7 separate regions of the Homo sapiens genome follow, and all the other regions are linked to region 3. The links are contacts of gene promoters, found by promoter capture Hi-C in human tissues and cell types (Jung and others, 2019). All regions are on one chromosome and are shown on one strand. The core of a region is centred on a gene start or on the middle of the fragment in contact, and the rest is flanking DNA. Distances in the headings are between cores, read along the strand shown.

Region 1 (3,848 bases), core at 163-2,662, 180 kb after region 3:
AGTCTTTGCTATTGTGAATAGTGCCACAGTAAACATACGTGTGCATGTGTCTTTATAGCAGTATGATTTATAATCCTTTCGGTATATACCCAGTAATGGGATGGCTGGGTCAAATGGTATTTCTAGTTCTAGATCCCTAAGGAAGCGCCACACTGACTTCCACAATGGTTGAACTAGTTTACAGTCCCACCAACAGTGTAAAAGTGTTCCTATTTCTCCACATCCTCTCCAGCACCTGTTGTTTCCTGACTTTTTAATGATAGCCTTTCTAACTGGTGTGAGATGGTATCTCATTGTGGTTTTGATTTGCATTTCTCTGATGGCCAGTGATGATGAGCATTTTTTCATGTGTCTTTTGGCTGCATAAATGTCTTCTTTTGAGAAGTGTCTGTTCATATACTTTGCCCACTTTTTGATGGGGTTGTTTGATTTTTTCTTGTAAATTTATTTGAGCTCATTGTGGATTCTGGATATTAGCCCTTTGTCAGATGAGTAGATTGCAAATATTTTCTCCCATTCGTGGTAGGTTGCCTATTCACTCTGATGGTAGTTTCTTTTGCTGTGCAGAAGCTCTTTAGTTTAATTAGATCCCATTTGTCAATTTTGGCTTTTGTTGCCATTGCTTTTGGTGTTTTAGACATGAAGTTCTTGCCCATGCCTGTGTCCTGAATGGTATTGCCTAGATTTTCTTCTAGGGCTTTTATGGTTTCAGGTCTAGCATTTAAGTATTTAATCCATCTTGAATTAATTTTTGTATAAGGAAGGGATCCAGTTTCAGCTTTCTACATATGGCTAGCCAGTATTCCCAGCACCATTTATTAAATAGGGAATTGTATCCCCATTTCTTGTTTTTGTCAGGTTTGTCAAAGATCAGATGGTTGTAGATAAGCAGCATTATTTCTGAGGGCTCTGTTCTGTTCCATTGGTCTATATCTCTGTTTTGGTACCAGTACCATGCTGTTTTGGTTACTGTAGCCTTGTAGTATAGTTTGAAGTCAGGTAGCGCAATGCTTCCAGCTTTATTCTTTTGGCTTAGGATTGACTTGGCCATGCAGGCTCTTTTTTGGTTCCATATGAACTTTAAAGTAGTTTTTTCCAATTCTGTGAAGAAAGTCATTGGTAGCTTGATGGGGATGGCATCGAATCTACAAATTACCTTGGGCAGTATGGCCATTTTCACGATATTGATTCTTCCTACCCATGAGCATGGAATGTTCTTCCATTTGTTTGTATCCTCTTTTATTTCATTGAGCAGTGGTTTGTAGTTCTCCTTGAAGAGGTCCTTCACATCCCCTGTAAGTTGGATTCCTGGGTATTTTATTCTCTTTGAAGCAATTGCGAATGGGAGTTCACTCATGATTTGGCTCTCTGTGTGTCTGTTATTGGTGTATAAGAATGCTTGTGATTTTTGCACATTGATTTTATATCCTGAGACTTTGCTGAAGTTGCCTATCAGCTCAAGGAGATTTTGGGCTGAGACAATGGGGTTTTCTAGATATACAATCATGTCATCTGCAAACAGGGACAATTTGACTTCCTCTTTTCCTAATTGAAAAAAAAATACCCTTTATTTCCTTCTCCTGCCTGATTGCCCTGGCCAGAACTTCCAACACTATGTTGAATAGGAGTGGTGAGAGAGGGCATCCCTGTCTTGTGCCCATTTTCAAAGGGAATGCTTCCAGTTTTTGCCCATTCAGTATGATATTGGCTGTGGGTTTGTCATAGATACCTCTTATTATTTTGAGATACGTACCATCAATACCTAATTTATTGAGAGTTTTTAGCATGAAGCGTTGTTGAATTTTGTCAAAGGCCTTTTCTGCATCTATTGAGATAATCATATGGTTTTTGTCGTTGGTTCTGTTTATATGCTGGATTATTTTTATTGATTTGCATATGTTGAACCAGCCTTGCAGCCCAGGGATGAAGCCCACTTGATCATGGTGGATAAGCTTTTTGATGTGCTGCTGGATTCGGTTTGCCAGTATTTTATTGAAGATTTTTGCATCGAAACAACAATATCCCTGATGAACACATCAGGGATATTGGTCTAAAATTCTCTTTTTTTGTTGTGTCTCTGCCAGGCTTTGGTATCAGGATGATGCTGGCCTCATAAAATGAGTTAGGGAGGATTCCTTCTTTTTCTATTGATTGGAATAGTTTCAGAAGGAATGGTACCAGCTCCTCCTTGTACCTCTGGTAGAATTTGGCTGTGAATCCATCTGGTCCTGGACTTTTTTTGGTTGGTAAGCTACTAATTATTGCCTCAATTTCAGAGCCTGTTATTGCTCTATTCAGAGATTCAACTTCTTGCTGGTTTAGTCTTGGGAGGGTGTATGTGTCGAGGAATTTATCTATTTCTTCTAGATTTTCTAGTTTACTTGCATAGAGGTGTTTATAGTATTCTCTGATGGTAGTTTGTATTTCTGTGGGATCGGTGGTGATATCCCCTTTATCATTTTTTATTGCGTCTATTTGATTCTTCTCTTTTCTTCTTTATTAGTCTTGCTAGCAGTCTATCAATTTTGTTGATCTTTTCAAAAAACCAGCTCCTAGATTCATTGAATTTTTGAAGGGTTTTTTTGTCTCTATTTCCTTCAGTTCTGCTCTGATCTTAGTTATTTCTTGCTTTCTGCTAGTTTTTGAATGTGCTTGCTCTTGCTTCTCTGGTTTTTTTAATTGTGATGTTAGGGTTTCAATTTTAGATCTTTCCTGCTTTCTCTTGTTGGCATTTAGTGCTTTGAATGCGTCCCAGAGATTCTGGTATGTTTTGTCTTTGTTCTCATTGGTTTCAAAGAACATCTTTATTTCTGCCTTCATTTCGTTATGTACCCAGTAGTCATTCAGGAGCAGGTTGTTCAGTTTCCATGTAGTTGAGCAGTTTGCAGTGAGTTTCTTAATCCTGAGTTCTAGTTTGATTGCACTGTGGTCTGAGAGATAGTTTGCTATAATTTCTGTTCTTTTACATTTGCTGAGGAGTGCTTTACTTCCAACTATGTGGTCAATTTTTGATTAGGTGCGGTGTGGTGCTGTGAAGAATGTATATTCTGTTGATATGCTTGCTTTCTTTTCCTCTCTCAGCTCCTTTAAAAGACATAAAATTATATATTAAGTAATAATTAACAACCCCATTAAAAAGTGGGCATAGGACATGAACAGACACTTCTCAAAAGAAGACATTTATGCAGCCAAAAAACATATGAAACAAGCTCAGCGTCACTGATTGTTAGAGAAATGCAAATCAAAACCACAGTGAGATACCATCTCATGTCAGTCAGAATGGCAGTTATTGAAAAATCAAGAAGCAACAAAAGCTCTCCAGGCCATGAAGGGATAGGAATGCTTTTACACTGTTGGTGGAAATGTAAATTAGTTCAATCATTGTGGAAGACAGTGTGGCAATTCCTCAAAGACCTAGAACCAGAAATATCATTTGACTTAGCAATCCCATTACTGGGTATATACCCAAAGAAATATAAATTATTCTGTTATGAAAATATATGGACATGTATATTCATTGCACTATTCACAATGAAAAAGACATGGAATCTACCTAAATGCCCATCAGTAATAGACTGAATAAAGAAAATGTGGTACACATACACCATGGAATACCACGCAGCCATACAAAGGAAAAAGATCATGTCCTTTCTAGGGACATGAATGGAGCTGGAAGCCATTATCTTAAGCAAACTAACACAGGAACAGAAAACCAAACACCACATGTTCTCACTCATAAGTGGAAGCTGAACAATGAGAACACGTGGACACAGGGAGAGTAACAACACACACTGGGGCCTGTTGGAGGAGGTGGCAGGGGAAGGGAGAGCATCAGGAAAAATAGCTAA
Region 2 (4,199 bases), core at 497-2,996, 220 kb after region 3:
GCTGAATCAAGTCTGCTGTTGAAGCTTCTATTAATTTTTTTTAGTTCAGTTGTTGTATTTTTTATCTCTAGGATTCTATTTGATTTTTAAAAATGATTCTGTTTCTTTTTAAAACTTCTCACTTTTCTTCATAAATTGTTTTTCAAATTGTATTTAATTTTCTATCGATATTTTCTTTTAGTTCACAAAGCTTCTTTAAGATAATCATTCTAAATTCCTTGTCAGTCATTTTATAGATCTCCATTTATTCAGGGTCCATTATTAGAGATTTATTAGTTGCTTTTTTTGGTGTGATATTTCTCTGGATCTTTGTAAACCTTACACTAGTGTCTACACATTTGAAGAAATGGCTACCTCTTCCAGTCTTTGCTAATTTTCTTCAGTAGCAATAAACCTTCACTGTTTAGTCTAGCCTGGGATTCTGGATGGCCCAGCTGGTGGCAAGTCCTGGCAGGCAGGCCTTGCTGTCAGATTCTCTAGCTGGGCTGTACTGCTGACCGCTTTGAGGTCAAATGGAAATGCTGGCTGTGCTCTAGAGTTTGATGAGATCACTGGCTGGACTCTGTAGTTAGGCAGAGCTATTAGCTAAGTTTTGTGATTGCCTCTGAGCAGAGTTACAGATTGTCTTCTCTCACTAGGTAATACTGCTGTTTGGAATCTGTAGATGAGCAAAGCCATGTGCTAAGCTCTGAGATTAGGCAAGATCTCAAGATCACTTCTCAGCTGGGGACAGTGGTTCACGCCTATAATCCCAGCAGTTTGGGAGGCTGAGGGAGGCAGATCACCTGAGGTCAGGGGTTTAAGACCAGCCTGGCCAACATGGTGAAATTCCATTTCTATGAAAATATAAAAATTAACCAGGCATGATGGCAGGTGCCTGTAATCCCAGCTACTTGGGAGGCTGAGGTGGGAAAATTGCTTGGACCTGGGAGGTGGAGGTTGCAGTGAGCTGAGATTGCACCACTGCACCCCAGTGTGGGTGACAGAGTGAGACTCCATCAAAAAAAAAAAAAAATGCTCTCCAGATTCCTCCTCTCTAGGCAGGGCATCTCTGAAAGAAAGGGAGCAGCCCCAGTCAGGGGCTTATAGATAAAACTCCCATCTCCCTGGGACAGAGCACCTGGAGGAAGGGATGGCTGTGGGTAGAGCTTCAGCAGACTTAAACATTCCTGCCTGCCAGCTCTGAAGACAGCAGCGGTTCTCCCAGCACAGTGCTTGAACTCTGCTAAGGGACAGACTGCCTCCTCAAGTGGGTCCCTGACCCCCATGCCTCCTGATGGGGAGACACCTCCCAGCAGAGGTCAACAGACACCTCATACAGGAGCGCTCCAGCTGGTATCTGGCGGGTGACCTCTGGGACGAAGCTTCCAGAGGAAGGAACAGGCAGCAATCTTTGCTATTCTGCAGCCTCTTCTGGTGATACCCAGGCAAACAGGTTCTGGAGTGGACCCCCAGAAAACTCCAGCAGACCTGCAAAGAGGGGCCTGACTGCTAGGAGAAAAACTAACAATAGAAAGCAATAGCATCAACATCAACAAAAAGGATGACCATGCAAAAACTCCATCCAAAGGTCACCAAGAGCAAAAACCAAAGGTAGATAAATCCACAAAGATGAGGAGAAAACAGTGCAAAAAGCCTGAAAATGCCAAAAACCATAATGCCTCTTCTTCTCCAAAGGATCACAACTCTTTGCCAGCAAGGGAACAAAACTAGACAGAGAATGAGTTTGATGAATTGACAGAAATAGGCTCCAGAATGTGGGTAATAACAAACTCCTTCAAGCTAAAGGAGCATGTTGTAACCCAATGCAAGTAAGCTAACAATCCTGATAAAAGGTTAGAGGAATTGCTAACTAGAATAACCAGTTTAGAAAAGGACATAAGTGACCTGATGGAACTGAAAAACACAGCACGAAAACTTCATGAAGCATACACAAGTATCAATAGCCAAATCGATCAAACAGTAGATCGATTGAAGATACCAGAGACTGAAGATCAACTTAAAGTATGAAGACAAGATTAGAGAAAAAAGAATGAAAAGAAATGAACAAAGCCTCCAAGAAATATAGGACTATGTGAAAAGACCAAACCTACAATTGATTGGTGTACCTGAAAGTGACAAGGAGAATAGAAACAAGTTGGAAAACACACTTCAGGATTTTATGCAGGAGAACTTCCCAAACCTAGCAAGACAGACCAACATTCAAATTCAGGAAAAGCAACCCCAAGACATAATTAACAGATTCACAAAGGTTGAAATAAAGGAGAAAATGTTAAGGACAGCCAGAGAGAAAGGTTGGGTTACCCACAAAGGGAAGCCCATCAGACTAACAGTGGATCTCTCTGCAGAAACCCTCAAGCCAGAAGAAAGTGGGGGCCAATATTCAACATTCTTAAAGAAAAGAATGTTCAACCCAGAATTTGATATCCAGCCAAACTAAGCTTCATAAGTGATGGGAAATAAAATTCTTTATGGACGAGCAAATGCTGAGAGATTTTGTCACCACTAGGCCTGCCTTACAAGAGCTTTTAAAGGAAGTACTAAATATAGAAAGGAACAACCAGTACCAGCCACTGCAAAAACAAACCAAAATGTAAAGACCGTCGACACTATGAAGAAATTGCATCAACTAATGGGCAAAATAACCAGCTAGCATCATAATGACAGGATCAAATTCATGTATAACAATATTAATGTTAAATGTAAGTGGGCTAAATGCCCCCATTAAAAGGGACACACTGGCAAATTTGATAAAGAGTCAAGACCCATCGGTTTGCTGTATTCAGGAGAACCAGCTCACGTGCAAAGACACACATAGGCTCAAAATAAAGGGATGGAGGAAGATTTACCAAGCAAATGGAAAGAAGAAAAAGCAGGGGTTGCAATCCTAGTCTCTGATAAACAGACTTTAAATCAACAAAAATCAAAAAAGACGAAGAAGGGCATTATATAATGGTAAAGGGATCAATGTAACAAGAAGAGGTAACTATCCTAAATATATATGCACCCAATACAGGAGCACCCAGATTCATAAAGCAAGTTCTTAGAGACCTGCAAAGAGACTTAGACTCCCACACAATCTTAGTGGGAAACTTTAACACCTCACTGTCAATATTAGACAGATCAATGAGAGAGAAAATTAACAAGGATATTCAGGACTTCAACTCAGCTCTGGACCAAGTGGACCTAATAGACATCTATAGAACTCTCCACCGCAAATCAACAGAATATACATTCTTCTCAGCACCACATCACACTTATTCTAAAATTGACCACATAATTGGAAATAAAACACTCCTCAGCAAATGAAAAAGAATGAAAATCATAACAAACAGTCTCTCACACCACAGTGCAATCAAATTAGAACTCAGGATTAAGAAACTCACTCAAAACCGCACAACTACATAGAAACTGAACAACCTGCTCCTGAATGACTACTGGGTAAATAACATATTTAAGGCAGAAACAAATAAGTTTTTTGAAACCAATGAGAACAAAGGCACAATGTACCAGCATCTCTGGAACACAGATAAGCAGTGTTTAGAGGGAAATTTATAGCACTAAATGCCCACAAGAGAAAGCAGAAAAGATCTAAAATCGACACCCTAACATCACAATTAAAAGAGCTAGAGAAGCAAGAGCAAACAATTCAAAAGCTAGCAGAAGACAAGAAATAACTAATATCAGAGCAGAACTGAAGGAGACACAGACACGGAAATCCCTTTTAAAAATCAATGAATCCAGCAGCTGGTTTTTTGAAAACAATAACAAAGTGTATAGACCAACAGCCAGAATAATAAAGAAGAAAAGAGAGAAGAATCAAATAGACACAATAAAAAATGATAAAGGGGATATCACCACTGATCCTACAGAAATACAAACTACTATCAGAGAATACTATAAACACCTCTATGCAAATAAACTAGAAAATCTAGAAGAAATGGATAAATTCCTGGACACATACACCCTCCCAAGACTAAACCAGGAAGAAGTTGAATCCCTGAATAGACCAATAACAAGTTCTGAAATTGAGGCAGTAGTTAGTAGCCTACCAACCAAAAAAAAGCCCGGGACCAGATGGATTCACAGCCGAATTTTACCAGAGGTACAGAGAGGAGATGGTACCATTTCTTCTGAAACTATTCCAAACAATAGAAAAAGAGGGAATCCTCTCTAATTCAGTTTATGAGGCCAGCATC
Region 3 (3,789 bases), core at 697-3,196:
TACTTTCCATTGAAAATAACACTGCCCATGCTGCCCACTTAAGAGTCCGCGGAACCATGTGACCAACCTAAACGTGATCGCACCGCTAACCAATCGCAGAGGGCGGAAAGGCCAGTCCCAGTTCACACGCTCCGGACAGTGGCAACCAAAGGGCAGGGGCATTCGGAGACGTAAAAACCCCAGGCGCTGCCCGACAGGCTCCTTGACCACATGCTTTAAAGTTCGCTCTCACTTCAGGAGCACGTGACTGCAGGCCGGCAGGGCCCCTGAAGCCACCCGGCGACGGGAGCCAGGGACTCTGGAACGGGTGTTAAGGGCCTGGGCGGCTTTCAGTCCCAATTCCCTGCAGCTGGCAAGCAAGCCCCTCGGCGTCACATCTGAAGATCACTTCGGGGACGCGCTAGGATTCCGACTGAGTCCTCTCAGAAAGGCTTCCTGTCGCCTGTCCAGGAAAGTTACGAGGCCCCAAGTGGGAACGTGGCTGACGACCAGGCGGGGCCCCCAGGCCCCCGCGGCAGAGTCTGGGGACCCGACAGTAGTCACCGCCGCCCTTCCCAACAAGACAGGGCCACACGCTCGCTCTCGCGCTGCTCCTTTGAGCTATTGTGTAGAATGAAGGCTAATTACAGTCACTAGCCTAGGACTCAATTCCTCTCGAGGAAACGTCACCGGGAAGGAGGGTCAGCAAACTAACCTGATTAAGTCTCCCCTCCACTCCCCCTCCGCGTTCAGCTACACGGGAGACCCGAGCGGTTTCCAAACGCCGCCCGAGGCGGGGAAAAGGGAGAGGAGAAGCGCCCAGAGCAGAGTCCTGCGTAAAGCCCCGCCGCTCCCCTACCCCGCACGCCGGAGAGGCGGCCCCGCGCCGGGGGAGTCGCAGTCCGGGTGCCCTCGGCTCCGCGGAGCCTCCCGGCCGCCGCCCACCGAACGTGCGCCAGCTCGCGGCCGCCGGAAGACTCTGAAGCCCGGCCGGCCCCTGGCGCTCCGCGTCCCCGGAGGCGCTCACCTTCTCCCCCCGTCCGCTCCCGCACTCCCCGGGGTTCGAGGGTGCGCCCGAGGCTGCCGCACACGTCTTGGCCCTCTGCCTCCTTCCCAACACTGCGCCTGGCAGAGGAGGCAGAACCATTGTTCAATGCTCAGAAGCCCACGCACCTCGGCGCCCGTCAAGAGGGCGAGAAACGAGGCGAAGCAGCGGCTCTGGGGGAGGCGGAGTGAGGGGCAGAAGACTAGTTCAGGCGAGGCGTCGGGGCACCCCGAACCCCGCTGTTCCCCAAGCCCGGCTCCCTTTAGCCTCGGCGCTGACAGCTCAGAGGCGCCACCACGGAGGGGAGGGAGGGAAGGCGAGGAGAACCGAGAGGCGCCTCCTAGGAGGCGGGTGGGCAAACGGAGACCTACGCCTCGGGGTCTCCCGGTGCCCCGGCTGGGTCCCGCCCGCCGGCGGAGGGGCGCGTCCTCACTCACCGGTTCCGGTGGCGCCGCTCTCCCGGGGCGCCCAGCACAGCGCGAGCAGCAGCCAGAGCGCCCAGAGCGCGGACGTGCCCATGGTGCCCGCCTGGATGGTGCCGCCGCCGCCGCCGCCGCCGCCGTTCGCTCCGCACGACAAGTTACCAGTCCTTCCGAAAGGAGGAAGAAGGTGGGGGCGGGGAGGGGAAAGGGGGAGAAGGAGGGGAAGGAGTTGGCGGGGGAAGGGAGCGGGGAAGAAGAGGGCACCCCCTCCCCTACAACTTGCACAGTCTCCTCCCCACCCACCCAGCCACCTCCCCGGGCTGCAGCAGCAGTGCAAGCCGAGCCTGCGGGCAGAAAATAATGCAGGCGCTGCAGAGGAGGGGAGGCAAGGGGAGAGGAGGGAAGGGAGAGGGGGTGGGGAGCCGAGAGCAGAAGAGAGCACAGAACGGAGAGGAGCCGGTAGCGGAGCACCCGCACCGGCGGCGGCCGGAGAGCGGGGTGAGCAGCGGGGAGGGGGCCGGAGGGGGCGTGGTCAACGGGAGGCGCGGCGGGCGGGCGGGAGCGCGGCGGCTTCGGCCCTCCTTTCCCTCGACGCGCTCCTCTTGCACGCGCCGGGCAGCCGGGTGCCCGCGCGGGGAGCGTGCGAGTGTGAGCGTGCGTGAGTGACCGCGGTCGTGGTCGTGGCTGCCGCCGCCGCCACCCGGACCGCTCTAGGGGCCCGGCTGCTCCGCGCGTTCGCCTGGGGCTCACGGGGGCCCGGGGCGACCGCTGGTTGGCTCGCGCGCCGCCCTCGCCTCCAATCCCGGGTGCCTGTCCTAATTTCCTGATCCAGGGAACCTGCCGCCGCAGCGGCTGTGCGCTCCCTACAGTCATTACTGTACCCTCCCGGCAGCCTCCGGCAGAACACGCAGCAGCAGCAGCAGTTAGCGCTGATGCAACTATCGTTGCTGTTGCCACCGCCTCCCCACTGACGGGGCGTGCACCTGGGGGGTACTTGCAGTTTCCAGGGGCAACAAGCATCTCTCTACCACCCTCTCCTGCGCCCCTGAGAGAGGCTGGTAGGTAGCATCTTCTTCGGGCCTCCTCTATCCACTCAGAAAGTGATGAAGCGGAGGGGCTCCAAACGTTTGGGCTGCTCAAAAGTGGGGTTTGGGATGCCGGTCTCAATCGCACGCTGAGATGCCGTTTTGCCGAAAACTAAATGTGTCTTTAAGTGAGAGAGTGTGTATGTTTGAAAGAGAGTGCGCGCGGTTGTGGCTGGTCCTCTGTAATAGAACAAGACTGAAATAACCCAGCCTGGGATGAGGAGAAGGGAAATTGCTAGCGCAGCTTTGCATTTGCTCATCAACGATTATAGTTAATTGCTAATTGCACAAAATGATAGTTTGAGGGCCTGTAATTAAAAGCTTAACCTTTTCTTGTTTGGAAGAGAGGGGCCCCATACGTTTATTCCTCTTGATATACTTTGTAACATTCAATTACAAGAATCGAGGAAAGAATAAAGGAAGCAAAGACAAGACTCCTAGAAAGGGTTGGTTCTTCTTTTGTGCCTGACAGTACCTGAGTCTATAATTTGCTTTTTGTGTACTTCAGTTTTCTTGCACACTTAGCCCTGGTTGAGGTGCATTGTCTGCTGTGGTCTGTTGAGCATCTAACCAGAGTGGGAGGGCACATCGAGCGATTTCACTTTCTTAAATAAAAGGTTTTTGGTATTTTGAAAAAGTTGTTTTTATCTTAATTCAAACTTGGAAGGTTTCAATAATATCATATTCTGACTCTATTCTGTTGGTGATCTGAAGAGCAGCGGGCACTGCCTCACTGTCTTCTCCTTGCCCTGGTTCTCCTGGAAATTTGTCAAGGCTAGCAATCAGAGGAGATGTTTATTAGGAACTTACTATATCCAGGAGACACACAGGAGAGGAAAATTCCAGTCAGGATAGGTTTCTGTGGGCCAAAGATATCCTGATTGTGACTGCTAAGCATGAAAGGGCTTAACTCTACGTATGGATGGTATCTTGCACTATAGCTCATTTTGAATGCTATTTTGCCCACCCTGTGGTTACATAGTTGATACAAACTGCAGCAGCCACACAGGTTGCATGTGAAACAACTGAAATTTGTTTGTATGACATTTAGTAGTGAAGATGCATGCCGGTGTTATTCACCTAATGGCATTGAGATGTGATAGGAAAACCTTAGTGCATGATGTCTTTCATATTCTCAGGGTTCTGAAATGCCATCTGATGAGCTACTGCTTTACAGAAGAGGAAAGGAGTAGAAGGGATGGGTGGAATCAATACAAAAAGAGGCAGCATTAATAAACAGTCATATGACTTGTTTTTA
Region 4 (3,809 bases), core at 499-2,998, 250 kb after region 3:
CCCTCCCTTCTCCTTACCCTTCCCAGCCTCTAGTATCCTCTTCTTTACTTTTTACTTCTGGGATCAACTTATTTTAGCTTCCACATAGGAGTGAGAATATTCAGTGTTTATCTTTCTGTTCCTGACTTATTCCACTAATATGATGTCCTCTAGCTCCATCCATGTTGATGCAAATGGCAGGATTTCACTCATTTTTTATGACTGAATAGTATTTTATTGTGTATATATCACATTTTCTTTATCCATTTTTCTCTTGTTAGACATCTAGGTTGCTTCCATAACTTGGCTATTGTGAGTAGTGCTGCTGCTGCAATAAACATGGGAGGGCAGATATCTCTTCAATATTATGATTTTCTTTCCTTTGGATAAATTCTAAGTGGTGAGATTACTAGATTATATGGTAGAATTACTTGTAGTTTTTCGAGACACTCCCATACTGTTCTCCATATTCTCCACAGTAATTGCATTAGTTAGCATTTCCATCAACAGTGTATAAGCCTTTGCATTTCTCTGCACCCTGGGCAGCATTTGTTATTTTTTGTCTTTTTGATACTAAACATCACTGGGGTGAGATGTTCTTTCGTAGTAGTTTTGATTGCACTTTCCTGATGATTAGTGATGTTGAGCATTTTTAATATACTTGTTGGCCATTTGTATGTCTTTTGAGAAATGTTTATTCAGATGGTTTGTCCATTTTTTAATTGTATTGTTTGGGATTTTTTTTCTGTTGAGTTCTGTTTGAGTTCCTTATATATTCTGGGCATCAATACCCTGTCAAATGAATAGTCTGCAAATATTTTCTCCCATTCTGTAGATTGTCTTTGTTGATTGTTGATTGTTTTCTTGCTGTGCAGAGGTTTTAGTTTGATATAATCCCATTGGTTTATTTTGCCTTTGTTGCCTGAGTTTTTGAGGCATTAATCATAAAATATTTCCCCAGACTAGTGTCCTAAAGCGTTTTCCCTATGTTTTCTTTTAGTAGTTTTATTGTTTCAGGTCTCTGATACATCTTAAGTTGATTTTTGTATAGGGTGAGAGCTGGTGTTCTAGTTTTATTATTCTGCACATAGACATCCAGTTTTCCCAGCACCATTTATTGATGAGACTGTCCTTTCTACAATGTGTGTTCTTGGTGGTCTTATCAAAAACCAGTTGGCTGGAGGTGCATAAATTTATCTCTGGGCTCTCTGTTCTATTCTATTATTCTATGTGTGTGTTTTTAGTCTAGTACTATGCTGTTTTGATTACTACAGCTTTATCGTATATTTTGAGGTATGGAAGTGTGATACCTCCGGCTTTGTTCTTTTTGCTCAGGACTGCTTTGGCTATTCAAGGTGCTGTGGTTCCACACAAATTTTAGAGTTATATTTTTCTATTGCCGTGAAAGATGTCATTGGTATTTGGATAGGGATTGCATTGAATCTGTAGATTGCTTTGAGTAGTATGGTCATTTTAACATTAATTCTTCTGATTCATGAGCAAGAGATGTCCTTCTACTTGCTTTTGTCCTCTTCAATTTCTTTTATATTATTTATTTATTTATTTTATATTTTCAAGCTTTTATTTTAGGTTCAGGAGTACAAGTGCGGGTTTGTTGTACAGGTAAATTTATGTCACAGGGGTTTGTTGTACAGATTATTTCATCACCCAGGTACTAAGCCTAGCACTGGATAGTTAGTTTTTCTGATACCCTTCCTCTTCCCACCCTCTACCTTCAAGTAGGTCCCAATGTCTGTTGTTCCCCTTTTTATGTCCATGTGTTCTCATCATTTAGCTCCCACTTTAAATGAAAACACGTGTATTTGATTTTTTGTTCCTAAATTAGTTTGCTAAGGAAATAGTCTCTAGCTCTATCCACGTTCCTACAAAGGACATGATCTCATTCTTTTTATGGCTGCATAGTATTCCATGGCATATATGTACCACATTCTCTTTATCCAATCTGCTGTTGATGGACATTTAGGTTGATTCCATGTCTTTGCTATTTTGAGTAGTGCTGCAATGAACATATGTTTTCATGTGTCTTTATGCTACAATAATGTATATTCCATTGGTGATATACCCAGGAGTGAGATTGTTGGGTAGAATGGTAGTTCTGTTTTTAGCTCTTTGAAGTATCACCACACTACTTTTCACTATGGTTGAACTAATTTAGACTCCCACCAACAGTGTATGCACATTCATTATTCTCTGCAAACTTGTCAGCATCTGTTATTTCTTGACTTTTTAATAACAGCCATTCTGACTGATGTGAGATAGTATCTCATTGTGGTTTTCATTTGCATTTCTCTAAAAATCGGTAATATTGAACTTATTTCTGGGCTCCCCATTCTGTTCCATTGGTCTAGGCGTCTGTTTTTGTACCAGTACCATGGTGTTTTGGTTACCGTAGCCCTGCAGTATATTAATAGTTTGAAGTCAGGTAACGTGACGCCTCCAGCTTTCTTCTTTTGTTTAGGATTGCCTTGACTATTCAGGCTCTTTTTCAGTTCTGTATGAATTTTAAAATAGTTTTTTCTAGTTCTGTGAAGAATGTCATTGATAGTTTGATAGGAATAGCGTTAAATCTGTAAATTGCTTTAGGCAGTATGACCATTTTAATGATACTCATTCTTCCTATCCGTGAGCTTGGAATGTTGTTCTGTTTGTTTGTGTCATTGCTGATTTCTTTGAACAATGTTTTGTAATTTTCATTGTAGACATCTTTTACTTCCCTGGCTAGCTGTATTCCTAGGTATTTTATTCTTTTTGTGGCAGTTGTGAGTGGGATTGTATTCCTGATTTGGCTCTTGGCTTGGCTGTTGTTGGTGTACAGAAATGCTAGTGATTTTTGTGTATCGATTTTGTATCCTGAGACTTTGTTAAAGTTGTTTATCAGCTGAAGGATCGTTTGAGCTGAGACTATGAGGTTTTCTAGATATAGGATCATGTCATCAGCAAAGAGGGATAGTTTGACTTCCTCTTTTTCTCTTCAGATGCCCTATATTTCTTTCTCCTGCCTGTTGCTCTGGCCAGGACTTCCAATACTATGTTGAATAGGAGTGGTAAGAGAGGGCATCCTTGTCTTATGTCAGTTTTAAAGGGGAATGCTTCCAGCTTTTGCCCAGTAAGCATAATGTTGGATGTGGGTTTGTCATAGATGGCTTTTATTTTGAGGTATATTCCTTCAATACCTAGTTTATTAAGAGTTTTTAACAGGAAGAGATGTTGAATTTTATCGAAAGTCTTTTTTGCATCGAGATAATCATGTGGTTTTTGTCTTTAGTTCTATTTATGTGATGAATCACATTTATTGATTTACATTTGTTGAACCAACCTTGCATCCCAGAGATAAAGCTTACTTGATCAAGATGGATTAGCTTTTTGATGTGCTGCTGGATTCAGTTTATGAGTATTTTCTTTATATGCTCTTCAACTTCTTTCATCAGTGTTTTGTAGTTTTTCTTATAGAGGTCTTTCACCTTCCTGGTTAAATTTATTCCCAGGTATTTTATTGTTTCTATAGCTATTGTAAATGGAATTGCCTTCTTGATTTCTTTTTCAGCCATTGTGTGGTTCATGTATAGAAATGCTACAGATTTTTGTATGCTAGTTTTGTATCCTGCAACTTTCCTGAATTCATTTATCTTTTCTAAGAGTTTTTTGGTAGAATCTTTCCATTTTTCTATATATAAGGCAATGTTATTTGTGGACAGGTACAATTTGATTTTTTCCTTTTCAATTTGGATATCTTTTATTTCTTTTTCTTGCCTAATTGCTCTGATTAGGACTTCCAGCACTGTGTTGATCAAGAGTGGTGAGAGTGGGCA
Region 5 (3,734 bases), core at 887-3,386, 190 kb after region 3:
GTATCTACTTCTCTCCATTCTCACTGGCAGTACCTGGGTGGTCATCTTCATCTGTTGGCTGGATTATTTCAATACTCTGTAACTAGTCCTATGTTCTGTTAGTCACCCCTTTTTCCCCTCACAGATCCATTCTCCATGCTGCAGCCGGAATCATCTTCCTAACACACAAATGGGATTATGACCCACTCCTTAGGCCCTGGCTTGAACCCTTCAATTAATTCTCAGTGTGATTACAATAAAATTCAAAACTCTATGTGGCCCTGCATGATATGGCCTGTGTTTCAGCTGTCACCTCTCCAGTCCTTAGACTCTGTGTTTCAGCCACTGTGAACTTCTTTTGGCTCTCTGAGTGGGTCACACTTCTCTTGCCTCTTGTCCATCACATAAGACACTCCCACTTCCCAAATGTCCTTCCCCTTCTCTCCTCTCCATGTGCCTTCCTACCAACAGTTTGACTCCCACTCAACCTAGCTGTCACCTTTTCTGGGAAGTTTTCTCTGACATATTCAGACTGAATTAACTTCTTATTTTCTGTCTGTCCTTAGTACCCTGTTCATTTCCCTATCAAAGCACTGTCATACTCTACTGAATTTTCTGTCTGTATCTTTGGTTAGACTGATGCTTGAGGGCAGAAACACCTCAATCACCATTAAATCTGAGCACTTCATGGATATTTGGTACAGAGAAGATGTTCAGTACTTTTTTTTGCTTGTTTTTTAGCTGGGTGGATGGGTGGGACAAATACCTGTTTGATACAAGCCAAAGAAAAGGTCATACATAGGCAATAAGCAATGTTGGTTAACCATTAGTGAAAATAGAATCACATTTTTTTCATACATTTATTTATTTATTTAATCTGATCCATAAATATCTTTTAACATATGATTTTCCAAAGTTGCTGTGTTTGACTCTTTTAAAGGATTTGACTGATTTGCTTAATTATTTGTTTGTTTGTTTGTTTGTTAATATGTGAGTAGACAAGCCAGCACATCTTTCTCACTCTCTACAAGCCAGGACTGGAAGAAATCTGGTTGTTGGCTTAGGAGGGATGAACCACGCACTGGGTTAAGACCTTGGCTCTGGAGTCAGAGCGTCTGAGTTTAGTTCTGCCATGTGATTTACCAACCATGTGATCTCAGGTGATGAATTAATGTTTCTGAAGTCCTTATCAGAGTGCCTAGTACATATTAAGAATGCAACAGTGGGTAGCAATATCATCAATGTTATATTCTCCACAAAAATTAACTTTATCATTATCCTTCCTTAATATTGTTGTTAGACTGTGACTGACGCATCACGGGGGGCGGGGGTTGTACACTGTGTGCAGGAAAAGTAACCAGAAACATCAGCCCTATGAGATCATCAGGAAAGACCTAATGCTTCTCACTGGACAGACAAGAAAACCCACACTCAGCAGGGTTAGGAGACCTTCTCCAAGTCACGTAGCTAGTAAGGGCAGAGCTGAGAGTCAAACCAGAACCTCTGATTCCAAAGCCAGTTCTCTTTCCACTACACTGCACGGCCTCTGGGTGTTAGCATTTCCAGGTCCCACCTACTTCCAAATATCTAAGGTCAAATAGGACTTTGGATTCCAAATATGCACACTGGGACTGCCTGTTCCCTTCTCTCCATTCACAGGTATGTGGCATTGTGGGCCCATGGGGCATTCTGCCCAGGCTTCAGAGCTCTCGGATGTGCCTCCCTTCCCCAAGCTGTCTTCTCTGTCAAGGGCACAGAGTGGTTCCCATAGAGACCAAAGTAACCTTTCACAGAGTTGTTTCTGCGTCTCTCCCTGGGAATGGGCTGGGATTGCTATCAATCTCTTGCACTTCAGAAGTCCAGAGAAACCAAGGCTTTTGTGCTTTGTAGACACATGCCACAAAAACTGAGCACACTTACCAACTGAACAAACATCAGAGTGTGCCAAATCTCTAAAGTCCGATTCTTAGTGCAAACTGCCAAAGCAGGTAACACTTACAGTACTCAGAAGGTCATAAATCGTCTAAGCTCGATAGCACCTGAGGCCTCTTCTAGTCTGAACTATTTATTTTGCAAAGGAGGAAATATGGGCATAGAAATGGGCAGGAACAAATGTCCAGGCTTTGGTGATAGTGGTTGTGGGGTGTCTCCTGGGTCCCATTCCGTCATCCTTCTCATTACACCCATATACGTCTTCCTGGAGCCTCATCATAATTGGATACCCCTTACAGAGACCAGCTGCCTGAGACATAGACACCTGCTCAGGACGTTGGCTATCACTATGGGGAGGCATTTTGACACAGGCCATTGTTAGTGATTGGGAACACCTCCTAAAAATGAGATGGTCTGAAGGGGTCCCAGTACTTGGGGGCTGTGTGTAATAGGAGCCTTAAGAGAGGCTCCTAGACTATCTCTTGATTGCCTGTATTATATTTTGTGAGAATGTAAACCTACCTCACTATGAATTTTAGCAAAATAAAATTTAAAAGAAAACAACCAAATGAAAAGAGGTGTCATACAGAAAAGAAGTATGGACAATTCTAGCGATGTTTCAAGAATAGTGTTCATCACTGGTTCTCCAGTACACAGAGAAATGTGCTGGAGAGGTTCATTAGGATTCTTGAGTCAAGCCAAAGGCTACAATCAGGCATGTGGTTTCAGGCATCCAGTAGCAGAGGTTAGCTCTAGAGTGGGGCCGGAAATAAACATTGCCCCATGTACCTACCCTACCCTTAGCTTAGTGCCTCCCAGTAGGTGGAAGGGAAATCTTAAGGAACCAAGATGGGTTGATCAATTCCAGGAAGCTTTGATGTTTTCAAAATCCCATAGGATATTGAAGTCATAGAACTTCCCAGGGGGTTCCTGAACCAGAATTCGCTTCAATCAGACAGACAGGGAACATATCTACTGTCCTCTGTTCTCCACATTTTCTCATCTTCTGAACCTCCACTTCCAGTCCTAAATCAGAGATAGGCAACTCCCTGCAGTACGGCGATACCACATGCCAGAGGGCTAAAGGAGTTCTCTCTATTGCACAGGACCATTCACAGGCAATGGAGTGAGTCTGAGGGGGATCTGAAGGGGAAAATTGCCTTTTGAGCATACTAAATTCCATCCCATTTAAGGCAGGAGACAGTGTCTCTTTATTCTTAAGCTTCCATTATCCTCCTTGGTACCCAGTGCGTGGAAGAGACTGAATAAACATCTGACGGATGACTAGGTAAATGAATGAATGAAAGAATAAAGTGAGTGTTTGAGTTAGTTAGAAAAAGAGTGAACTATATAGGCTAGAGAATGACTGCCAAAAAAACCACAAGGGCATTGCAAAATCTCCATAATACACACATAAATGTTCATGCATTCTATGATGGAGAAAGAAGTTCATCTGTTTATATAATTCCTATCAAAACTGTATTTCCTCTTATGTTTTTTACTTTCTTGAACTCTTTAAAACAAGAAACTTTTAACTCTTTTGTTCTCTGAACATTTAAAATAACTTTTTGGTGTTATTTCTTTCGTTTTTTCTAGCCAGTGAAATATTTATCCCAATGAGCTGTTTTTCACTTAACCTTGCTTAGTGTCTTTGTCTGTAGTCACCACTTGGCCTTTTCACTACTATATGCATTAACACCCAGGTAGGAAAGAGACAAATGGAAGCAAAATAGCAAAATGGTGAAGAGGAGGGTTCTAGAGGCAGAGAGCCCTGCAGTCCTGAGTCCTGAGTCCACCGTTTAACAGAGTGACTTTGCTCAGCC
Region 6 (3,982 bases), core at 844-3,343, 200 kb before region 3:
AAACTAGAATGTTAATAGAAAATTCACAAAGGTATTAAGAGTATAACATTTTAAAATAATAAAATTATATTGTTTTAGTTCTACAGTTTGTTTATGTCAGGTAATTTAACACTAAGTACATATCTTTTTAAATCTCGAAGAGTTACTTCTAAAGGGGTGATAAGCTAACGTTACCCATGGATTTGATCCATGGATTATTTGGAATTATTAATTTCCAAATATTGGGGGTTTCTGGATATATTCTATATTCTTTTGTTCCTTTTAAATTTACTGAGACCTGTTTTATGGCCTAACATATGGTCTAAGTATTTTGAAAATAATATATTGTAGAGTTGTTTGGTGGGGTATTCTATATTTGTCAATTAGATCAAAGTAGTTGACAGTGTTCATACCATCAGTGTTTTTACTGACTTATTATTTTCTAGTTCTATCAGTTGCTGAGAGAAACATGTTAAAATTTCCAACTATACTTGTGGATTTGTCTGTTTCTCACTTACATTCAATTCTGTACCACCTTCTGTTGTATTCACCTAGAAATATTTTATGCTTGGTTATGCTTATGTGTGTCCGAGTTAAGAGAACTGAAACCAGTGATTTTGTACTAGGCACGTTGTTCTATATTTTGTCTCCTTCACTTAATTCATATTATGGGTCATTTTATTTCAATATACATACATCTGTCTACCTCACTTTTCTTAGTGACTGTAATATTTCATCGTGTGCCTATACCATAATTTATTTAACCAGTCCCCACTGTTGGGCATTTTGGTAGTTTCTAGAGTTTTTAAAATTACAATTAGTACCCCAGTGAATATATTCATATGTAAGTCTTTGTACTTACATGGAAACACGTCTGCAAGATAAATCCCTAGAACTAGAATCACTGGATCAGCTCATACCTGCATTTTAAATTTGTATAGGTGTTGTCAATTGCTCTTCAAAGAAGTTGAACCACTTTACATTCTCATCAACATAAAAGCGTGCCTGCTTTTCCCTAAACCTTTGATAAATTAGTCTATTGTCAGAGGTTTTCACCATCACCCATAGGATAAATGGCATTTCATTGTTTTAATTATTGTCCTTAATTAGTTCATAAAGCATTATTTCATACATTTAAAGACATTTGTACTTCTGTTTTAGTGTGATCTGACTCTTCATGTTCTTTTTTTTTTTTTTTTTTTGAGACAGAGTCTTGCTCTGTCGCCCAGGCTGGAGTGCCGTGGCGCGATCTGGGCTCACTGCAAGCTCCGCCTCCCAGGTTCACGCCATTCTCCTGCCTCAGCCTCCTGAGTAGCTGGGACTACAGGCGCCCACCACCATGCCCAGCTAATGTTTTGTATTAGTAGTAGAGATGGGGTTTCACCCTGTTAGCCAGGATGGTCTCGATCTCCTGACCTCGTGATCCACCAGCCTCAGCTTTCCAAAGTGCTGGGATTACAGGCGTGAGCTACCGCACCTGGCTTTGCCCATTTTTAGTTGGTTGTTGGTCTTTGTATAGTAAGACCTTTGTTGTTTGTCTTCAGTTTGTCTTTTTGACTTTACAGTTAGCAACTTCGTTATTGTTTCTAATTGAAATTGTATTATCTGTGATATTTATCAGATCTGGCTCTGAATGATTGTGGGCTATTATCAAAAATCAAATTCCTATCAGAGTTTGAAACAATTATATCAACATCCAGGATACTCATGCCACAAGCTCTGGAAACAGGTTTTTGTTTTCTTTTGTTTTTGTTCTTAACATAAAGTAGGTGTTCTTTAAATGTTTGGAACAGTATTAGCATCATGGAAATAATTTTATTTCAAAAGATGAGTGTTGTGAAAGCCACATGTGTATTTCTGTGATCTCATGCAGCTATACTTTTTTTAAAGTAATGATTTTTATATCATTCTCATTCAGTGTATAATTATACTCTTCTAGTTTATTTTTTCATATTTATATTCTAATTTTGTGAGATCACTTTAAAGAAATTGAGCAATATAGAAAAGAAAATTAAAAATCATTTGTATAACCCAGAGATGACTATTACAATGCCTTGCCTTCCAGGATTTTCTGTGTACATGTATTATGTATATCGTGTGTGTGTGTGTATGTGTGTAAAATTGTATGAGTTTATATTTTCTTTTTCATGATTGGAGTATCATATATGTGTTTATATATGTAGGTTTTTTGAAGTTAATCTTATAACTTGAACTTTTAAGTATAATTTTCAAGTAGCTATTCATTAACAGTAACCTATGTAAATAGGTATTAGTTTTAGACTATTTGGTAATGAATAATGTGCTTTAAAAAAAAATCAACCTTACCTCTAGAATATAATTAATGAGGTCGTGATAAGAGAGGAAGTTCATTAAAATGGCTTTTATTCATCTTGTTATGTTAGACAAGTTGTCAATGTAGGTAATCTTTTTTTTTTTTTTTTTTTGAGCGGAGTCTCGCTCTACCTTTATGAAGATATTCCATGTGTGAAATAAGAGGGAAGATCTATGCACTTGTTTTTAACCTTTGCTGGCTTCCAATTCTTGCAGGGCCAATACTCCCATTTGGTTTTACTGGCGGCATTTGATTGTATTGATGATACTAAGCTTGTGAAGCAGATAATCATATCAGTAAGTAATCCTGATGGTCTTGAATTTAAGTTACATCGATAAACCAGTTGTGGATGTGTAAGCTTGATTTCACCATGCATGTGTAAAGACTTGCAGCTGTGCCTTCTATCAGTATTTTTGCTTACTTTTAAGTTAATTATGTTTTATTTTGGAGGTTTGTTTTATTCCTGTGTAAATCTTAACCTTGTAACTTGATATTAATACTGTTTTAAATATTTAAGACTGGTCAAATTAAGATTTAACACTTTTATTTTGGATTAGGATAACATGGTACTTTAGAACATACGTGATTCTAAACTATGGAAAATTAGCAAAGTGATATTTAGATATGATCAGAAACTAGCATAGTAATTCCTTAGTTATTCCAGAACTCAAATACAAGCAGAGAGTATCTGTGACCTATTAAATTATCTCTCTCCCTGTGGAGAAATAATTACCTCTGCACAGTTACCCAGTTAATCAATGCATCTGTGCTGGATTGAGCTGATGGAGAAGAGAAATGTACAAAACTCACTCAGTTGTGATGCTTCTTAGAGCTTTTGTAGGGTCAGATTAAAAGTTATTACTAAAATTAAAACTCTAGCTTCCTTTTGACATTTCAGAAATTCCTTCTAGTCCAGTGTAGTGGCCATAAAGTGGTAATACTTGAATGTAGTGTATTTATCGCTAACGTTGCCTTCAGAAAAACCAATTGTCCTCTTAGGGGAAGTACTCCAAAGTAAAAATTGCATTCTAAACTATGTGTTTTCTTCATTCTGCATCAATAGTCTCTTTTTCTGATTCTACAATTGTCTTTTCTTTTGTTTTTAGTGTATGAGTGGTGTTGAGTATATGGTAGAGGTTGCAGCAGGGTGGGGATAAGAAAATACTAGTTTGATAGTAGTGACCAAACTTGGAAACGTCTGGAAAACCACATAATCTGTATAGACATAGGTTATTCATCTGAAAATTACACAAGCCTTTCTGTTTGATATACATAAATGGGACCCTTGGAGAAATCTTAGTGATGACATGTGGTACTTTCACATCTGCAAGAAAGAAGAATATGATGATTCAAAAAGAGAATTTACCTGTTGTCAGGTGGTGGTGTTGTGGTCTCTCTTTGTAGCCTCCTGGGATCAGTAGAGCTGAGTGTAGTAGAAAAAGTATACCAGCTAGTGGAGGGGAAGATTGTTTTCTTAGATGCCAGCCGTAGGTCCCAGTGTGTGTGAATTTCTCATGCCCTTGCTGTCATTTTCCAACTTTACCCTTGACTGTTTTAAGATTGTGATGACTTTCTTTGGGATAGGATTGTGGGAAGAAACAAGTTGGCAAGACTTTCATGTTACAAACTGAGTATTTTGACATGTTCCTTGTGACTTTATTACCCTTTTGA
Region 7 (3,806 bases), core at 1,276-3,775, 220 kb before region 3:
AGAGCTGAGAGATGCAGGTATGGTTATGATGGCCATAGCCAAGTAATAATGTGACCCTTCAGTTCTAAATGCCCTGAGGAAGCTGAGTAATTCAGGGACTGTCCATTTTTCAAAATCATTAGAAAAGTCTAGATTAGAACAGCACTTTCCAGAGTACTCCTTGGAAGTCTGCTGTTCCCTTATGATGTTCCAGGAAAAAGTGGTTCAACTGGAGTTGGAAAATCCTGCATCCTTTAGCCTTTGCTTGAGAATTGATTGTATATATTAGCAAATTAAAGAATCTGAAAAGCCTTTTCTTACGGGCTGATTCTTGTCATTTAACTTACTGTTTCCCAAATATATTTTATCCCAGAACCCTTCTTTTCTCTTATGGTAATATCCTGAGAAATTAGTTCTTGAATGGGCAATTCTAATCTAGAAATATCTGGTGTTGTCTAGGGATCCCTAACATCTGTTGTTTACAGCCAGCTTTCAAATGAGTTGATCGTCCAACTTTGGAAAGTGGAGAAATGAGCCAAATGGCTTTTTCTCTTGATCTGTTCTGCTGCTTTCAGGGACCTTGGGTAGGTGAGGGGTTATAACTTGTTTATCCTGTGCACCATGGTGTCTCAGTAGCCTATAAAGCGCCTATTAGACAGATTCCTTTCAATGAAATATTAACTATTTCAACATCTTATTTTGGAGTTCACTGCCAATTGCTTGGCTGCGTCTAAAACAATCACAGATTAAACACTGGATGCTAATCTTTGTTTTAGCTGTGTTGGATTGCATAGGAATCTTTCAGATAATCCTTTATTTTCTTATATTAAATGCATGTAGTGGTACATGCAGCCTATTGTTTGTTCCTGGCTTTTTAGGCTCCAAGAAATCAAGCGATAATTTTGTCAGTTATTCATCCCCTAGTCTTCCCAGGTTACAAAATGCAAACTCTGATGCTTATTATACTTAGTGTCAATAGTGGTCTATTTTTAGCCAGTACTATTGTGGAAGTGAAGTGATGCCTCCAGAGATATCAAACACTGGCCAGGGTGTGTGTTGTTCTTAGTTTTTTTATTGATACCTTGTTCATTTTCAGTTTTAAAATTTGAGTCAGTGATTGCAAAATTGCTGGATTTAAGTACTTGTCCATTCTATATCTGGCTGATTTGTATTGTATTTGTAGACTGAAGGACTAAATGTGGCAATGACTATGAAACAGCTCTTATTTGATGAAGAGAACTGCAGTGATTGTTTTTGGTTTTGGTTTTGGTTTTCCAGAGTTGCTACGATGGAAGTTAAAGGGAAAAAGCAATTCACAGGAAAGAGTACAAAGACAGCACAAGAAAAAAACAGATTTCATAAAAATAGTGGTAAGATATGCTTCCCATGTGGGTGTTTGGCTGTTATAATTGGGGGATGGGAGGGCATGTAGTAAATTTCAATCTGTATTCATTGGCTAGGATTAGGATTAAAATAGTAGGAAGAAGTATGTGTTATTGTGTATGAGTTAACATGTTGCTCATGACATTTAGACACTTAAGAAATTGCAAGAATGATTGAGGAATGCCTTATTCATGAAAGACTCCTTATCTCAGTTGTTGCTGCTGTTGCCTCATTTTATTCACACTAGTTCACCATACATTTTATTTTAACATTTGATAAATTAGGACTGTTTAATACATACTGCTCATAAGCCAAATACGTTTAGGTTCAGAATTTATAATGGTGATGTCTTTATTATTCCATCAGGTGTCAGTATTGTAAAACAGAAAAGTCAAGGGACTATACAAATGATTAATGTTTCCTTAATGTTAGCCATTACTGTTTGCATCTCATTTGTTAGGTACTAATTTGTAAGCCTTCTTGATCAAAAGTTTTTGATAAATAATTTTAATATAGGCTTTAAAATTTTCTTAAAACTAGAAAATTTTAAAATTAACATTTTAGATGTCCTTATGATATACTTTCCAAATTTCAAGAATGTTCAAGAAGTCATTTCTTAAGACTTCTTTTGTTATTGAACTCTTGAAAATTCTGTGTAGACCATCATTAAAGCAGAATACAAAGGTATATAAATAATAGCTCTGCTATATGCTTAAAACTAGAGAAACATACCAAACTGACACCAGTGTTTATCTTTAGTGGTAGAATCATGGGTAGCTTTTATTTTACATTTCTCTACTCTCTAGGTGGTTTTATAATCAAGGAAAGAATTTTTTATTTTTGTTTTGATTGTTTAAATCCAGTTCTACTCAAAAGGCTATATGTTGCATATTTGAGAGTAAGACATGGTATTGGGATTAAAAAGTATAATTTTCTGTAATGGATATAATCCAATAGATAAAAGAGATTTGGGCCCAGAATCATTGAACTTATAATTATTATTGTCACTAGATTCTGGTTCTTCAAAGACATTTCCAACAAGGAAAGTTGCTAAAGAAGGTGGACCTAAAGTCACATCTAGGAACTTTGAGAAAAGTATCACAAAACTTGGGAAAAAGGGTGTAAAGCAGTTCAAGAATAAGCAGCAAGGGGACAAATCACCAAAGAACAAATTCCAGCCGGCAAATAAATTCAACAAGAAGAGAAAATTCCAGCCAGATGGTAGAAGCGATGGTAAGTACTGGTTCGTTCATGCCTGAACTAGTGCCTGAACGATTGTGCACAGGGACTCTGGAGGTGCGTTAGAAACCTCACATTCTTATTCCTTGGCAGGTAACATTTTGGGACAGGTAGGTGGCTTAAATAAACAACAAAGCATCTTTCATGCTCACAATTTTCCTCTGGTGCTTAGAGTTTCTTATTTCTTAGCCCTTTTCTGAATTACCTTAGCCATGGAGTTAAGTTAAATTATAATGGCTTTATACAGTGGAACCTCAATAAAACATTTCTTTTTATAAGCTAAAATTTATTCGTTCATCGAACGAGTATTTGAGTTTTCTATGCATTGTACCAGGAGATAGGGCAAAACACACACACACACACGCACACACACAAAAATAATCAGTAAGGATACAGGCCCCAACTAATCATAGAATCTGGCTTTAAAGAATCAGTCTGTCCCCAGCTAAGTGTCAGCCTTGGTTAAGGATGCTTTGGTGAGCAAGAAACATAGAGACCCTGCCTTCACAGAGCTTAGGCCAGTCTAATACAATAAATCCCTCTGATGGCGCAGATCCATAGTAGTTCCAGAGAAGGTGTTGTGCACACATGACAGATTTGATTTTAATTGATTCAGGACAAGTTGCTCACTGATTGGAAGTATTGGCAGGTCTCGTGCTTGTCTGTTGAAACAAACTGCCCATCTCTGTCAACGATGTTCAGTGGGTCATTTCTAACCCAGAACTTTGCTCTCTATTTTATAACATTCCGCTGTCGTGCTTTGTCCTGCACTGATCTCAAACAAGCAGTTTCCAGGTTATGTGGATTGTCATATCATTACTTTCTTTGCAACATCCTGAGAATTTTTCTGGTGCCTTTTATTCTCTTTTTCTCCAGCACAGCGTGTCTTAACACTGCTCCTTTGTTGCCAGCTGAGACCACTGGGGATGGTTTTCTCAGTGCCATCCCCTAGTCCTGGTGCTTGCTTTTTACCCTGCCTAAGGGCTGCTTACCAGAGGGACAGCAGCCTTAAGACAAGGAGGTAGGGAGAGAGGAAGGAGGGGAAATGCCATCGTTTCCCATTAGGGCTCCAGGATCTTTTCATGCTCCAGTCTTGATCTTCTCTTTTCATTTTTTCTTTCTCCCTCATCTTCCTCCTCCCCAATTGCCAGAAGTTTCTCTTCCAGCTCTCTTTTCTACTTTCTCTTTCCTAACCTCTCTACTAG

What was found. The method cuts DNA at HindIII sites, captures the fragments that hold promoters and counts their contacts. A contact is called where the count stands out against the background at its distance.
Region 1: a fragment that was not itself captured here is called in contact with the fragment with the promoter of VLDLR in region 3 in 4 of the 25 tissues and cell types used here (aorta, dorsolateral prefrontal cortex, mesendoderm cells and 1 more).
Region 2: a fragment that was not itself captured here is called in contact with the fragment with the promoter of VLDLR in region 3 in 2 of the 25 tissues and cell types used here (heart right ventricle and ovary).
Region 4: a contact is called between a fragment that was not itself captured here and the fragment with the promoter of VLDLR in region 3, in 2 of the 25 tissues and cell types used here (IMR-90 fibroblasts and heart left ventricle).
Region 5: a contact is called between a fragment that was not itself captured here and the fragment with the promoter of VLDLR in region 3, in 4 of the 25 tissues and cell types used here (heart left ventricle, lymphoblastoid cells, mesendoderm cells and 1 more).
Region 6: a contact is called between a fragment that was not itself captured here and the fragment with the promoter of VLDLR in region 3, in 1 of the 25 tissues and cell types used here (mesenchymal stem cells).
Region 7: a fragment that was not itself captured here is called in contact with the fragment with the promoter of VLDLR in region 3 in 1 of the 25 tissues and cell types used here (dorsolateral prefrontal cortex).

The regions. Positions count from the first base shown.
Region 1 is chr9:2,443,539-2,447,386 of GRCh38, reverse strand. All of the region lies in intron 3 of LOC101930053 (a long non-coding RNA gene), which reads left to right. Among named protein-coding and RNA genes, the nearest start is that of VLDLR, 180 kb to the left of the region's middle. The HindIII fragment of the contact is 8,299 bases long and covers 1-3,848 here.
Region 2 is chr9:2,400,209-2,404,407 of GRCh38, reverse strand. The region is part of intron 5 of LOC101930053 (a long non-coding RNA gene); the gene reads left to right. Among named protein-coding and RNA genes, the nearest start is that of VLDLR, 220 kb to the left of the region's middle. The HindIII fragment of the contact is 3,278 bases long and covers 108-3,385 here.
Region 3 is chr9:2,619,944-2,623,732 of GRCh38, reverse strand. It overlaps VLDLR (very low density lipoprotein receptor), which reads right to left and starts at 1,946. Exons shown (of 19, transcript NM_003383.5): 1 at 1,462-1,946. The coding sequence starts at 1,543. It overlaps VLDLR-AS1 (VLDLR antisense RNA 1), which reads left to right and starts at 1,360. Exons shown (of 4, transcript NR_015375.2): 1 at 1,360-1,633. RefSeq lists silencers at 812-901, 912-1,001, 1,272-1,541, 2,152-2,231 and an enhancer at 2,110-2,404. The HindIII fragment of the contact is 11,914 bases long and covers 1-3,789 here.
Region 4 is chr9:2,371,958-2,375,766 of GRCh38, reverse strand. No RefSeq gene overlaps it. Among named protein-coding and RNA genes, the nearest start is that of VLDLR, 250 kb to the left of the region's middle. The HindIII fragment of the contact is 5,218 bases long and covers 1-3,809 here.
Region 5 is chr9:2,425,421-2,429,154 of GRCh38, reverse strand. LOC101930053 (a long non-coding RNA gene) reads left to right here. Exons shown (of 6, transcript XR_001746603.2): 4 at 3,615-3,734. All of the region lies in intron 2 of LOC105375956 (a long non-coding RNA gene), which reads right to left. Among named protein-coding and RNA genes, the nearest start is that of VLDLR, 190 kb to the left of the region's middle. The HindIII fragment of the contact is 5,833 bases long and covers 1-3,734 here.
Region 6 is chr9:2,818,643-2,822,624 of GRCh38, reverse strand. PUM3 (pumilio RNA binding family member 3) reads left to right here. Exons shown (of 18, transcript NM_014878.5): 13 at 2,527-2,607. Among named protein-coding and RNA genes, the nearest start is that of PUM3, 23 kb to the left of the region's middle. The HindIII fragment of the contact is 3,005 bases long and covers 591-3,595 here.
Region 7 is chr9:2,835,969-2,839,774 of GRCh38, reverse strand. PUM3 (pumilio RNA binding family member 3) reads left to right here. Exons shown (of 18, transcript NM_014878.5): 2 at 1,258-1,349; 3 at 2,374-2,595. The coding sequence starts at 1,268. Among named protein-coding and RNA genes, the nearest start is that of PUM3, 6.2 kb to the left of the region's middle. The HindIII fragment of the contact is 7,995 bases long and covers 1-3,806 here.